Regions from separate parts of the Homo sapiens genome. Here region 1 is linked to region 2. Evidence: promoter capture Hi-C in 16 types of primary human blood cells and fetal thymus (Javierre and others, 2016). All regions are on one chromosome and are shown on one strand. The core of a region is centred on a gene start or on the middle of the fragment in contact, and the rest is flanking DNA. Distances in the headings are between cores, read along the strand shown.

The links. The method cuts DNA at HindIII sites, captures the fragments that hold promoters and counts their contacts. A CHiCAGO score of 5 or more calls a contact.
Region 1: a fragment that was not itself captured here is called in contact with the fragment with the promoter of SLC2A3 in region 2 in 1 of 17 cell types (M1 macrophages); the score reaches 8.1 in M1 macrophages.

What each region holds. Positions count from the first base shown.
Region 1 is chr12:7,622,121-7,628,634 of GRCh38, reverse strand. No RefSeq gene overlaps it. Among named protein-coding and RNA genes, the nearest start is that of APOBEC1, 41 kb to the left of the region's middle. The HindIII fragment of the contact is 7,553 bases long and covers 1-5,539 here.
Region 2 is chr12:7,932,421-7,938,993 of GRCh38, reverse strand. It overlaps SLC2A3 (solute carrier family 2 member 3), which reads left to right and starts at 2,807. Exons shown (of 10, transcript NM_006931.3): 1 at 2,807-2,974; 2 at 5,092-5,184; 3 at 5,847-6,007. The coding sequence starts at 2,960. RefSeq lists a cis regulatory region at 433-780, a silencer at 2,629-2,678 and an enhancer at 3,746-4,699. The HindIII fragment of the contact is 4,746 bases long and covers 1,697-6,442 here.

The DNA of each region.
Region 1 (6,514 bases), core at 514-3,013, 310 kb after region 2:
CACCTCTGTGGTGGGCGCGCACCCAACGCACGCACTTAGGCTCAATCCGGGAGTCGCCTCCGGCCACTGACTGGAGACCCAGGCGAGTCCTAAGGAACTGACAAGGCCCAACGGTCAAAACGGCCTCTGTCGTGGGCGCTCACCCAATGCACCCACCTACTCTCTCTCAATCCGGGCGTCGCCTCCCGTTGCCAGGCAACGAGAGCGCGCGCAGCAAAGAGGAAGCGGGACTGACAGATGAGGAAACCGAGGTTTGCAGAGACTGAGTGACTTGTTGAAGATCACACAGCTAGTAAGAGGCAGAATCAAAGCTGGAACTTGGGGGCTGGGTGCGGTGGCTCACGCCTGTAGTCCCAGCTACTCGGGAGGCTGAGGCAGGAGAATCGCTTGAACCTGGGGGGCGGAGGTTGCAGTGAGCAGAGATCGCGCCACTGCACTCCAGCCCGGGCGACAGAGCTAGACTCCATCTAAAAACAACAACAACACAAAATCGCGCCACTACACTCCAGCCAGGATGGTGAGACCCTGTCTCAAAACAAACAGCTGCAACATAAAAAACCCAAAAACCAAACCATAACAAAAAAAACCTGGAAATTGAACTTGGGCCCAGGATGGAAACTGACTACCTGAAGAGGTGCTTTGGAAATTGCCTGGCCCAGGCACTTGCACTTGACATGCATGGGGTATATTCTTCCACGTACAATTACATATATGCATTCATATGATTATGTACAGTAGTAGTAGATTATTAAATGTTGAAGAGCACTAACACACCATGTACATAATGGAACTGTATTTAATATTTATTTTTGGTAGTGATATGGCACATGAAAATAATTTGTTTTCTCATGTAGAAAATTCAGGGAATGGCTTAAATAGAATTTCAGCTTTGGGGGCTCATAATTGAGTGAGAGGCTTCTTCCTTGATTCCCCTGAGAAGGAAGAAATCTTCATTTTTGGTTTGCAAGACCATGAAAACAGTAAGTACAACAAATGAAATACTTTACACTCAAGGAAACATGTTTTAAAAAACAGAGAAGATATAGAAAAGAAGTATAAGTAATATATTCAAAGAGAGACTAAACGATATTTTATTAATTTTAAAAGCCATAGATTATAAAAATAAAAGTTTGCCCTATGAAAATAGAAAGAAAATCCTTAAGATAGTAGGTGAAGAACAGAATGGATAATGCCAGAAAAATTTTGACCCGAGAGACCTAAATAAGTAATTCTCCCAAAATACAGTAAAAGGGGAATAATGACAAAGAATATAAAAGAGATACGGAGGATACATATACAGAAATTTCAATATGCATCCAAGTTATAGAAATATTAAATGGAGTAGAGTACAATCAATAATAATTATAACAACAATAAATGAGAAATTTTCAGGATTTAGCTAAAACATAAATCTTCATCTAAACTTCAGAGTGGAAAAACACATAATACTCAAAGGAAATACAATTATATTGACTTCCAATTTCTCATCACCAACACTAGGAAGAAGAAAATTTAAAAGAAAAATCTTTGTCACCTTGGGTAAGCAAAGAGTTCTTGGACATAAGACCAACACCAAAGGACAAACTAATAAGGTAGATATTATGAAAATTAAAAACTTTACTTCTTCAAAAGACCATTAAAAGATTGGAAGGCTAGCCATAGTCTGGAAGAAAATAATTGCACATCATATAGTTAATAAGTTTGTATCTAGAATACATAAAGAACTCTCATAACTCAATTTTAAAGAGTAAACAATAGGCAAAAAGATTTGAACAGATACTTCCCCAGGGAAGATACTCAGATAGAAAATAGGCACCTGAAATTAACATCACTAGTCATTAGAGAAATGCAAATTAAAACCACAACCAAATACCAATACACAATGATTAGAATAGCTAAAATAAAAAGACTTTACAATACCACATACTGGCAAGGAGGAGGAATAACTAAAAATTTCTTATTGTTTAAATGCAGAGTGGTACCATGGGGCTGGAGCCTACTAGTCTAATGAGGTTTTAGCTTAATAAAAGTGTTTAATTTTCATTCAATTAATGTGGGATAAAGTTTTACAGTCCTTATTTTTCAGGAATTAAGTATGATATACTTGCTTAAGACTTTGAGGGTTGTTGTTCTGGCTAACCTAAATTCCTGATCCAATGCTAAAAATATTCGTGCAAGGGGGAAAGAAAAGATTGATAATATCCTAAGTGGAGATAGAAAGGCTATTTTGTTTGTATTCTTCACCTGGCATTTTGTTTTTATGTTGTTGGTTGTTGGCAATATTTTAAGTGGTGTAGAGTAAATCAGTCAGACATAAAAATATAAACTAAGTAAAGCTATGATAGCTACAAATGTTGGTATAATAAACTATTGTTCTTTGACATGAATAATAATTCATTTAGGTAAAAATCTGGTAAGTGATGGTAGACTTCCTAAGGAAAATAAGGTAACTGAAATTGTGGTTGCTTAGGGTGATAATTGATTTCATGTGTATGATGATGATAATGCTGTGGTACATATATTTAATAATAATTGCCTTCTGGGAGCACAGCTTAAATTTCTCATTTGCTTTACATCCTGCTGCTCATTTGAAATTTTCATTGGTTCACAGATATTTTAAGTAGCAAACACAGCTCTGAGGGCAGAAAATGAGACAGTTATTGCCTTGAATTATACTTCTGATGGTGCGAAGAGTAGCTCTTTCCCCCCGCCATCATACTTACTGTGATCTCTGTGGCTCCTGTAATTTTTTTTTCCTTTCCATAAACCAGAAATACATCATCAGAACAATTTATGGCTAGGCATGCCTGTAATCCCAGCACTCTGGGAGGCTGAGGTGGATGGATCACCTGAGGTCAGGAGTTCGAGACCAGCCTGGCCAACATGGCAAAACACTGTCTCTACTAAAATACCAAAAGATTAGCCAGGTCTGGTGGTGTGCGCCTGTACTCCCAGCCACTTAGGAGGCTGAGGCAGGAGAATCGCTTGAACCTGGGAGGCGGAGGTTGCAGTGAGCCGAGATCATGCCATTGCACTCCAGCCTGGGTGACAGAGGGAGACTCCGTCTCAAAAGAAGAAAAAAAAAAGAAAAATTTATTATTGAAATACTCAGTCAGCACCTGCAGCCCTCCCTACCAAGATGGCTTTGTGGCAGGCCAGGTCTCACTAATGCAGGCCTCCATAACAACTGTTTCAGAGTGGTTAACTATTAAAAGCCAGTGCTCTTATACACAGGTTGGAATGTAACAAAAGCCCAGCAAGAGTTTTGCCTAGGCCTTTCCCGAACCTTAAAGCATGATTAAACATGTCTATTGGAAGTCTGAAGGAACTCCCCAAACCTTTGTGATTTAGCAGGAGACAAGATAAGGGTAATCACCCCAGCATCTAGACTCATTTAGATTAAGCAAATTTACTGAGGCTCCAGAGGAAGGTCATCAGGACTCAGACCTTAGTTATAGATTAAAAGAAGTTAATCACTTATGTCTTTAGATGAATGCACATTTACATGTAGACATATAGCTTAGAAGGTCTATGAACTCTGGAAAACTTTGTAATTTTGAGTTGGTCTGGCGAAAATTTCTGGGCCTTTTCCTTATAATTGGTTACAGAGATAAAAACTCTCTTCCTCCCCAGTACATTATCATCTTGTTATTGGGCCATGAGAAATAGCAGCCTGACCCTCAGTTCGGTCCAGATACTCAGCTTGGTCTCTGTTGTGCCTGGATCACAGTTCAAATTCTTCTCGTATCACATTTTGTTGTCTCATCATTCCCCGACTCTGCTTTCTTTCCAAGGTGTTAATTCCTAAAAACATTTATTTTTTAGGAATAAATGCCACTTTGTTTTAGCATCTGCTTCTGAAAAATCCAATCTGCGACAATCCTCTTCAGATGGGTTGAAGCAGAAGGAACAAGCCATGCTCACAGGGAGCAGGGTTCTCCCTCTCCCTGTGAGTCACAGTTACTTTACAATTCACTATGCTTCATCCTTGCCCCAGAGCCTTCTGAAAATAATAAACTCTCATTAACCCAGAGAAATGACAATGTTGCATCAATTATCTCTGTGAGGATTCCACAGAGCCTGAAGCCTTACATTTTCTACCAAGGGCATGAAAGAATTTTAGCTGCTGCTCAACTTCGGAAAGGGAAATGCCTTGAAAGTAAAATTGAAGGGGAGGTGGGATCCATTCAGACACTGAAATATTTCTCACATTCTAGGTTACTTAAACCTATTTTTCTAGTTTCTTCAGTAGAATTTTTAGTACACTTTGAAGTTGTTTTTGAAGTTTGAGTGCATACGAAAAACCATACAATTACATTGTTCTTTTCTACACCTTTCATAGATTGAACACACTCATGTAATTGTCATCCAGGTCAAGAAAAAACATTGCTGACACCCCCAATCCCATTTGTACATTCTTTCAGTTACCATCCTCCATCACATAACCAGTAGGTAAACATCTAACAATACCGTTTCCAGTGTACTTTGGAAATCCATATAAATAGAATTATAAAGGATATAATCCTCTCTGTTGGATTTTTTATTTTATATATTGTTTGTGAGATCCATGTATAATATTGTTGGCTGTGGTTGTAGTTTTTTCATTCTCATTACTATATTGCACTCCATTGTGTGAATAGACCACATTTCATTTATTCACTTTACTGCTGGTGTTTTCTAGTTTGGCGCTATTATAAATAAAACTGTTATGGCTATTTTGTACATGTCTTTTGATGTCTTGTGTATGGAATTGGTTCCTTCTGGTGGGTTCGTGGTCTCGCTGACCTCAAGAATGAAGCCACAGACCTTCACGGTAAATGTTACATCTCTTAAAGGTGGCATGGACCCAAAGAGTGAGCAGCAGCAAGATTTATTGTGAAGAGCGAAAGAACGAAGTTTCCACAGCATCGGAAGGGGACCCAAGCAGGTTGCCACTGCTGGCGGGTGGTGGCCAGCTTTTATTTCCTTATTTGTCCCCACCCATGTCCTGCTGATTGGTTCATTTTACAAACCTCTAGCTAGCTACAGAGCGCTGATTGGTGCGTTTTACAATCCTAGCTACAGAGCGCCGATTGGTGCGTTTTACAATCCTAGCTACAGAGTGCTGATTGGTGCATTTTACAATCCTCTTGTAAGACAGAAAAGTTCTCCAAATCCCTACTCACCCAGGATGTCCAGCTGGTTTCACCTCTCAGTATTAGTTATACTCCCTCAAGCCTGAGAAATCTATTTGCTCCACATCCTCACTGACACTTGGAATTTTCAGGTATTTTTCATTTTAGCCATTATAGTGGGATGTAGTTATATAACATTTGAGTTTTCTTTGATGATTAATGAAATTGAGCAATTTTCAAATGCTCTTTGGTTATTGGAAAATCACTTTTTGTGACATATCTGTTCAAGTATCTTGCCCAATTTTTTCTAAGTTGTTTATCTTTTTTTATTACCTGTAGGAATCATTTATATATTCTGCATATAAGCCCTTCATAGACATCTGAATTGCAAAACTTCTCCCCTTACGAGAGATACCTTTAAAGCTTTTTTAGTAGTGCTTTTTAATGAACAGAAATTCTTAATGTAGACCAGGCATGGTGGCTCATGCCTGTAATCCCAGCACTTCTGGAGGCCAAGGCGGGTGGATCACCTGAGGTCAGGAGTTTAAAACCAGCCTTGCCAATATGGTGAAACCCTGTCTCTACTAAAAATACTAAAATTAGCTGGGCATGGTGGCAGACACTTGTAATCCCAGCTACTCGGGAGGCTGAGGCAGGAGAATCACTTGAACCCAGGAAGCAGAGGTTGCAGTGAGCCAAGATTGTGCCTTTGCACTCCAGCCTAGACTCCATCTCAAAATAAATAAATAAATGAGTAAAAGAAATTCTTAATGTTAATATTGTTGGAACTTGTCTTTATTTCCTCTGGTAATTGTATACTATTTAAGAAAACCACTTACTCCAATGTCATGAAGATGTTCTCTGTTTTCTTCTGAAAAGTTTATTGCTTTATCTTTTTATGTACTTTATATTAAAGTATAATACAGCAAAATATATCCTTTTAGTGTATTAGTTCTGCAAGTGTTGACAAAGGGATATAGTCATGTAACCACTGCCATAATTAATATACAGAACAGTTAAATTACAACAAAAAATTTCCCTCCGTCCTTTTGTGATTAACTTCTCCTTTGCCAAACCCTATGCTTTCTATTCCTATAGTTTTGTCTTTTCCAGAATGTCATTCAGTGAATTCATACAGTATGGAAACTTTTGTGTCTTGCTTCATTCACTTAGCACAGTGCATTTGAGATTCATCCTTGTTGTAGCATGTATAGGTAGTTCTTCTTTTTTATTGTGGAGTAGTGTTTCATTGTTTGGATGTTCTGCAACTTGTTAATCCATTAACTAGTTGAGAGACATTTGGGTTCTTCTGGTTTGGGTAGTTACATATAAGGCCGCTATAAACAATCTTGTACAGGTTTTTGTGTAAACATTTCATTTTGGTAATATGTAGGATTGGG
Region 2 (6,573 bases), core at 1,558-4,057:
CTACTCGGGAGGCTAAGGCAAGAGAATGGCGTGAACCCGGGAGGTGGAGCTTGCAGTAAGCCGAGATCGCGCCACTGCACTCCAGCCTGGGCAACAGAGCAAGACTCTGTCTAAAAAAAAAAAAAAAAAAGAGAGATCAAGAGATCAAGACCACCCTGGTGTACGACTGGGCTAGGCGGCCAGGCTTGGCTGTATGCAATTTGCCTGCATGCAACGCTCGATATGCAACTTAAAATATTTTCCTGATAAACACAACTTTGTTGTTTTGGTGGGGCTACATATCCCTTTAATTTGTAAATTTAAAATATACAATATGTTTCAAAGACTTAGTACAAAAAAGTAAACTATTAATTTTTATATTGAATGCATGCTGAAATGACAATGTTTTGGATATATTGGGTTAAATAAAATAATTATGAAAAAAATTTATCTTGTTTCTTTTAAAATTTTTAGTGTGGCTACTAGAAACCATAATGTGACATGCTCATATTATATTTCTATTGGACAGCACTGCCCTTTGGGATATCCTTTTTCCTTTAGATACTAAATTCAGTTGCTGTGGTGACTAAAGGGGCCTCTGGCTCAGCATTTCCTGGAAGGCAATGGTGAGATGGGGGAGGGGAGTTGTCATCAAATCAGATTTTAACAATATCCTCGTTAAAGCAAAGGAAGCAACAGTAATCTAGTTTTCTCGGGTCCAGCAGTATCAATTTGAATTCTAGGCCCTCAACCAAAACCCTAAAGGAAGATACACTTTCTCCAATTCACCACTGGGAAAAAGTTTATCTCTTTACCAAGCGTCCTTCACCCACCCTGCCACCTCCAGTACTGAAAGGGTTGCAAGCTACAAATGAATGGGCATTAGGAATTTGATAGTTGATATTCCTCCTCCAAAAAAGCCTAGATACTATCTCTCACTTACCCAGCTGTTTAAACACAAACCAAGTTGTTTTGCTTTGTTTACTCTCAACCTGGAACCACTCTTCTCTCTCCCCGATTATCCCTCCCTCAGTTCTCATTCCTATTTTCTTCTCCTGCTTAGCTTGTTCAGTTTTCTTGTATAGCTTAGTAATCAGATACTTATGTAACACTTTTCTTTCAAGAAACTCACAGTCCATAACTAATAGGATATTAATAATCTTTTCCAGTTATGTGAGAATTACTTGCCCTAGTCCCTTTTTATACTTTATAAAAAGGGAAGAAGGGAAACACTATAAATGACTTGTGGGTCAGAACTCTTTTGTCCTATTATTCTTTTTTTTTTTTTTTTTTGAGACGGATTCTTGCTCTGTCGCCCAGGCTGGAGTGCAGTGGCGCTGTCTTGGCTCACTGCAAGCTCCGCCTGCCGCGTTCACGCCATTCTCCTGTCTCAGCCTCCCGAGTAGCTGGGACTGCAGGCGCCCGCCACCATGCCCGGCTAATTTTTTTTTTTTTTTTTTTTTTTTTTGTATTTTTAGTAGAGAATGGTTTCACCGTGTTAGCCAGGATGGTCTTGATCTCCTGACCTCGTGATCCGCCCACCTCGGCCTCCCAAAGTGCTGGGATTACAGGCGTGAGCCACCGCGCCCGGCCTTTTTTTCTATTATTCACTGAAGAATCACCAGCTTCTTGGAGAGTACCTGATACATAGCGTGTATTCGGCAAATACCTGCTTAATTGAATTCGGTATTTATTGCATTTCTAGATGCTATAAGCTTGAGACTAGCAGAAAGTGATGCAGAATTCAGAATGGGTGATATGGCAAATGCCTTATTAAATATAGGGCTCGGCGCGGTGGCTCACACTTGTAATCCCAGCACTTTGGGAGGCCAAGGCGGGCAGATCACAAGGTCAGGAGTTTGAGACCAGCCTGGCCAATATGGTGAAACCCCGTCTTTACTAAAAATACAAAAATTAGCGGGGCGTGGTGGCGGGCGCCTATAGTCCCAGCTACTCGGGAGGCTGAGGCAGGAGAATTGCTTGAACCCGGGAGGCGGAGGTTGCAGTGAGCCGAGATCGCACCACTGCACTCCAGCCTGGGCGACAGAGAGAGACTCCATATCAAAAAAAAAAAAAAAAAAAAAAAAAGGATATGGATTGTATTCCATAAACAGTTGAACCTCTTATTCCTACTGCCCTGATAGTTGGTCTGGCTCCTAGAAATTCAGATTTTCTTCCCTCCAGGTGAGATTATGCGAAGAAAGGAACACTGGCAAAATTATTTCCCTGATTTTCTTCTCTCAGGCTGTCTTTCCCTCCCCTTTAAGATTGTGTACTCCGTCTCAAAAAAAAAAGAAAAAAAAAAGATTGTAGACCCAGCCTATAAATTCATAGGATCAAGAATTCTTACTAACACTCTTTCTAACAACCTTAAATCTCTGATAGTAGCACCCACTTGACTTCGTTTTGTATGGATAGATTTATTCTAATCTCTCTGTAGATTGTTTTAATCCCAAGCAGATGCGAGAGCATAAAATAGTGTATTTGCCCTCCCTCCAGGCTTTTCTGGTAGTATTTTGTCTGTGAAACTAAGAGGCTCTAGCTGCTATTAGAAGAGGGAAGGAGTAAGGATGAGCTTTTGAAAAAAAAAAAAAAAAAAAAACCCAGGGTGGAGAGAGTGGAAGGATGTGGTTTTAAGAGAGGGGGGAGGGAGGGCGTTATTGTCTGTGGGGCGGGGGCGGGGGTAGTTCTGATAACACAGAATTCCGAGAGATCACAAGATTGCTTCAGGGGGGTGGGGTGGGGTGGGGTGGGGCTGGGGGCTTGTCGCCCTTTCAGGCTCCACCCTTTGCGGAGATTATAAATAGTCATGATCCCAGCGAGACCCAGAGATGCTGTAATGGTAAGACTTTGGATCCTTCCTGAGGACGTGGAGAAAACTTGCTGCTGAGAAGGACATTTTGAAGGTTTTGTTGGCTGAAAAAGCTGTTTCTGGAATCACCCCTAGATCTTTCTTGAAGACTTGAATTAGATTACAGCGATGGGGACACAGAAGGTAAGAATGATATAATTACTGGTTATTTTTGCTTGTTTGGGATACACTCAGAAAGGCAAATATTAATGGTAATCTCCTTGTTCTATTTTCTCCTAAGTCACCAAGCTATCTTAAGGCCTTTTCATTTCGTCTCTAGCCTGCACTGCTGCCGCTTCATCAGTTCTCTTTGAATGTCATACAGTTCTGTTCACCTTATCATAGGAAAGTCACCCGGAGAAGTTGTGTTTGCTTCTCAGGTTTATTTTAGGTAACCATATGCCACTGAGGACGAGATGGTTGAGTGTTTAGAGGATCGGGCTGCTTGGTTGTATGGATTACAAGTGTGGGTCTCAGAGCCAGTGTGAAGACTTCTCTGGAAGCATTAGACCTTGAAAAGGTCTGTGTTTGGAGGCACAGGCCAGGGTCTGGCCATCTGTTTGTCCTATAACATATGGGGTTCGTGGATGCTAAGGAGAAAGAATTCCAGTTGTCCTTCCTATTAGGGTTAAAATCGTGAGTGCAGGACATACTAAAATATTGAGTGTTGTATATGCATTATTTGCAGGGAGAAAGGCTTTTCTTTTTTTTCTGATTGAGTTTTACTCTTGTTGCCCAGGCTGGAGTGCAATGGAGCGACCGCAGCTCACCACAGCCTCCGCCTCCCGGGTTCAAGCGATTCTCCTGCCTCAGCCTCCTGAGTAGCTGAGATTACAGGCATGAACCACCGGGCCCGGCTAATTTTGTATTTTTAGTAGAGACGGGGTTTCTCTATGTTGGTCAGGCTGGTCTCGACTCCCGACCTCAGGCGATCCGCCGGCCTCGGCCTCCCAAGGTGCTGAGATTACAGGCATGAGCCACTGCGCGCAGCAAGAAAGGCATTTTTTACCAAGATAAATTTAACTAAAAATAAGGGGCCAGGTGTGGTGGGTCACACCTATAACCCCAGCATTTGGGAAACCAAGGCAGGAGGATCACATGAGGCCTGGAGTTTGAGACTAGCCTTGGGCAATATAGTGAGATCCCATCTCTACAAAGCAGAAAGAAAGAAAATGTAGGAAAATAAGAAAGGGATGGAAAATTATGAGACTAAAGAAGAAAAGGCTCTCAAAGATAGTGAATGATGAGAGGAGACAGAAGAGATTTTTACTAAACGGAAAAAGATTTAACAGAGCATTGCACTGGCAGGGCCCTCCGGGGTACCGATGCTTAGCTGGGACTGAGACATCTGGGAGGCTGCAGGCAAGGTCACTTCTCCTGCTGAAGCTCCCAGCCTGCTGCCTAATCTGCCCGACCTGAAAGGAAAGGAGTTTAAGATATGAAAGGTTGAAGGGATTTTGGGTGGTGGGGTGGGGGGGAATGGCGTAGAAGTTGGCCTCAGGTATAAAAATTGAGCTGCCCCAAGGTAGAAATGGAAAATGTCTCGCCCGGCTGAATTATTCCAGGCAAGGTGAAGATGACCGGTTCTCCCCACTAAGAAATGTCTCTTATATGTTGGGTTCGCCCTTATATGTTGGGTTCAGAGTAAGTACTTTCTTCCCCTGCGCGGGAGTTAGGGATAGCAGAACTGTATTTAATAAACGAAGACTGAAATGGGGCCAGGATGCAGTGAGTAGATCCAGTAGGTTACATGGTCCTGAGAGATAAGAGACTCAAAGAGCCACCCAGCAGTGAAGACACAAACTACCACCCCCTCCACCACCACCAGTGGGCTTCCGTGGAGTCTGGGGTACAGATCAGACTGCACTGTATTTGTTTCCAGAATGGTCAATTCTTAGTAATCCTACCCGAGACTGTCTTTTTCTCTGCCCTCCCAGTTCGTGAGTGGAATTCTATGCCTACATTTGCCTGATGCAAGTTTTTAAATATTTCCAAACTGACCAACCCAGTTTCTCTTAACTTCTTCCTTCCCCAATTTTCTTTCATTTTTACCAAGTTAACTTCACATTCTTATCTCCAGATAAGTTCTTTAGTATAATCTATTCCTTTGTCTTCCCCATTAATTACCTAAATCTCATTGGATGTTCTTTTCATACCACTCATAACTCAAATTCTCCTAATACAGCTCCATAATTAATAAGAAACAGTCATCAATCACAAGTTTTAAGGACTATTCTCTCCTCTGTCTTCCCTCCCTCCAGGTCACCCCAGCTCTGATATTTGCCATCACAGTTGCTACAATCGGCTCTTTCCAATTTGGCTACAACACTGGGGTCATCAATGCTCCTGAGAAGGTGAGTGCCAGGCCACAATAATTAGAATTTAGAATAGGGAAGTTATTCCTTTAAGTAGGGTTTCAGGAATTCAGAATTTAAGGCCAGGCATGGTGGCATCTGCCTGGAGTCCCAGCTACTCCTGAGGCTGAGGCTTAAAGATCACTTGAGTCCAGGAGTTAAACACCATCCTGAGCAACACAGTTAGTGAGGGTCCCTCCCCAAACTAGGGGATTTTAAGACAAACTTTGTATCTATCCTGTCCAAGACTGAAGATGGAGACAATATTGGTGGGGAAAATTAGTGGGGTCATCTAATCGAAGCACAAAGCTCACTTACTCCCGGAACGCTGGGCGGTGCTGTTCTTCCTCCCACTCTTTCACCTCATAGTGATGCACATCCTGTATTATCCCTTAGGGGTTAGTTACAAAGAAGCTGGGTTCCCTTAGCAGAGGGCTGGGGTAGACTGTGAACATCGGTGCTGCCACCTACTGGGATTTTCAGGACAAATAGAATTACTATTCCAGCGAGAGTTAACATAAATTCCAATACGTTATCTGCCCCTTCCATTCCTGTCTATTTATTCCCTTGATTCTCTAGGAAGGAAATGATCCCTAATGTTTGTCTTTTGTTCTCATCCAACTGTAACAGTCTGTTCTTCCACCAACCCTTTTATTTTGCAGATCATAAAGGAATTTATCAATAAAACTTTGACGGACAAGGGAAATGCCCCACCCTCTGAGGTGCTGCTCACGTCTCTCTGGTCCTTGTCTGTGGCCATATTTTCCGTCGGGGGTATGATCGGCTCCTTTTCCGTCGGACTCTTCGTCAACCGCTTTGGCAGGTATTGACTAGAAACTGGGCAAGGAAGTGGGCTCTACCAGCCACATTGAGGACAAGTGTGGAGAGTTAGGGCAGGGAGGTGATGATGCCTTTGAATAAGAACACCTTGAATTCTAATCAAGGGAAACCTAGTCCAACTGGCCCCGAATATGACTGCCCTTGCTTGGAGCTCTACTACCCTGGAGAGCTCCCACCCAGCTGTGCAAGAGATGAACTGTGAGTGATTGGCCTTTGCAGTCCAGCTAGGGATAGTTCAGAATTATTCCCTAGTAAACTCAACTATGGGGTTTCTAGAAACATACTTAATTTACAAGGTCCGAAGTTGTTTACTTGTATTATAAATGTTTTTATTATTTTACCCAGGATTGGTAGGAATTATTTTTGTCTATGGCAAATGTGGATAATGACAAAAAAAAAGTCTTATTCTATAGAAGCTTAACAATATGTTTTAGAAGGTAGAATATATTTTCATTTATGACTAATGAAGGAACTGTTTTAATTTGCCAATTAGGCACGGTGTGGTGGCTCACCCCTGTAATCCTAGCACTTTGGGAAACCGAGGCAAGT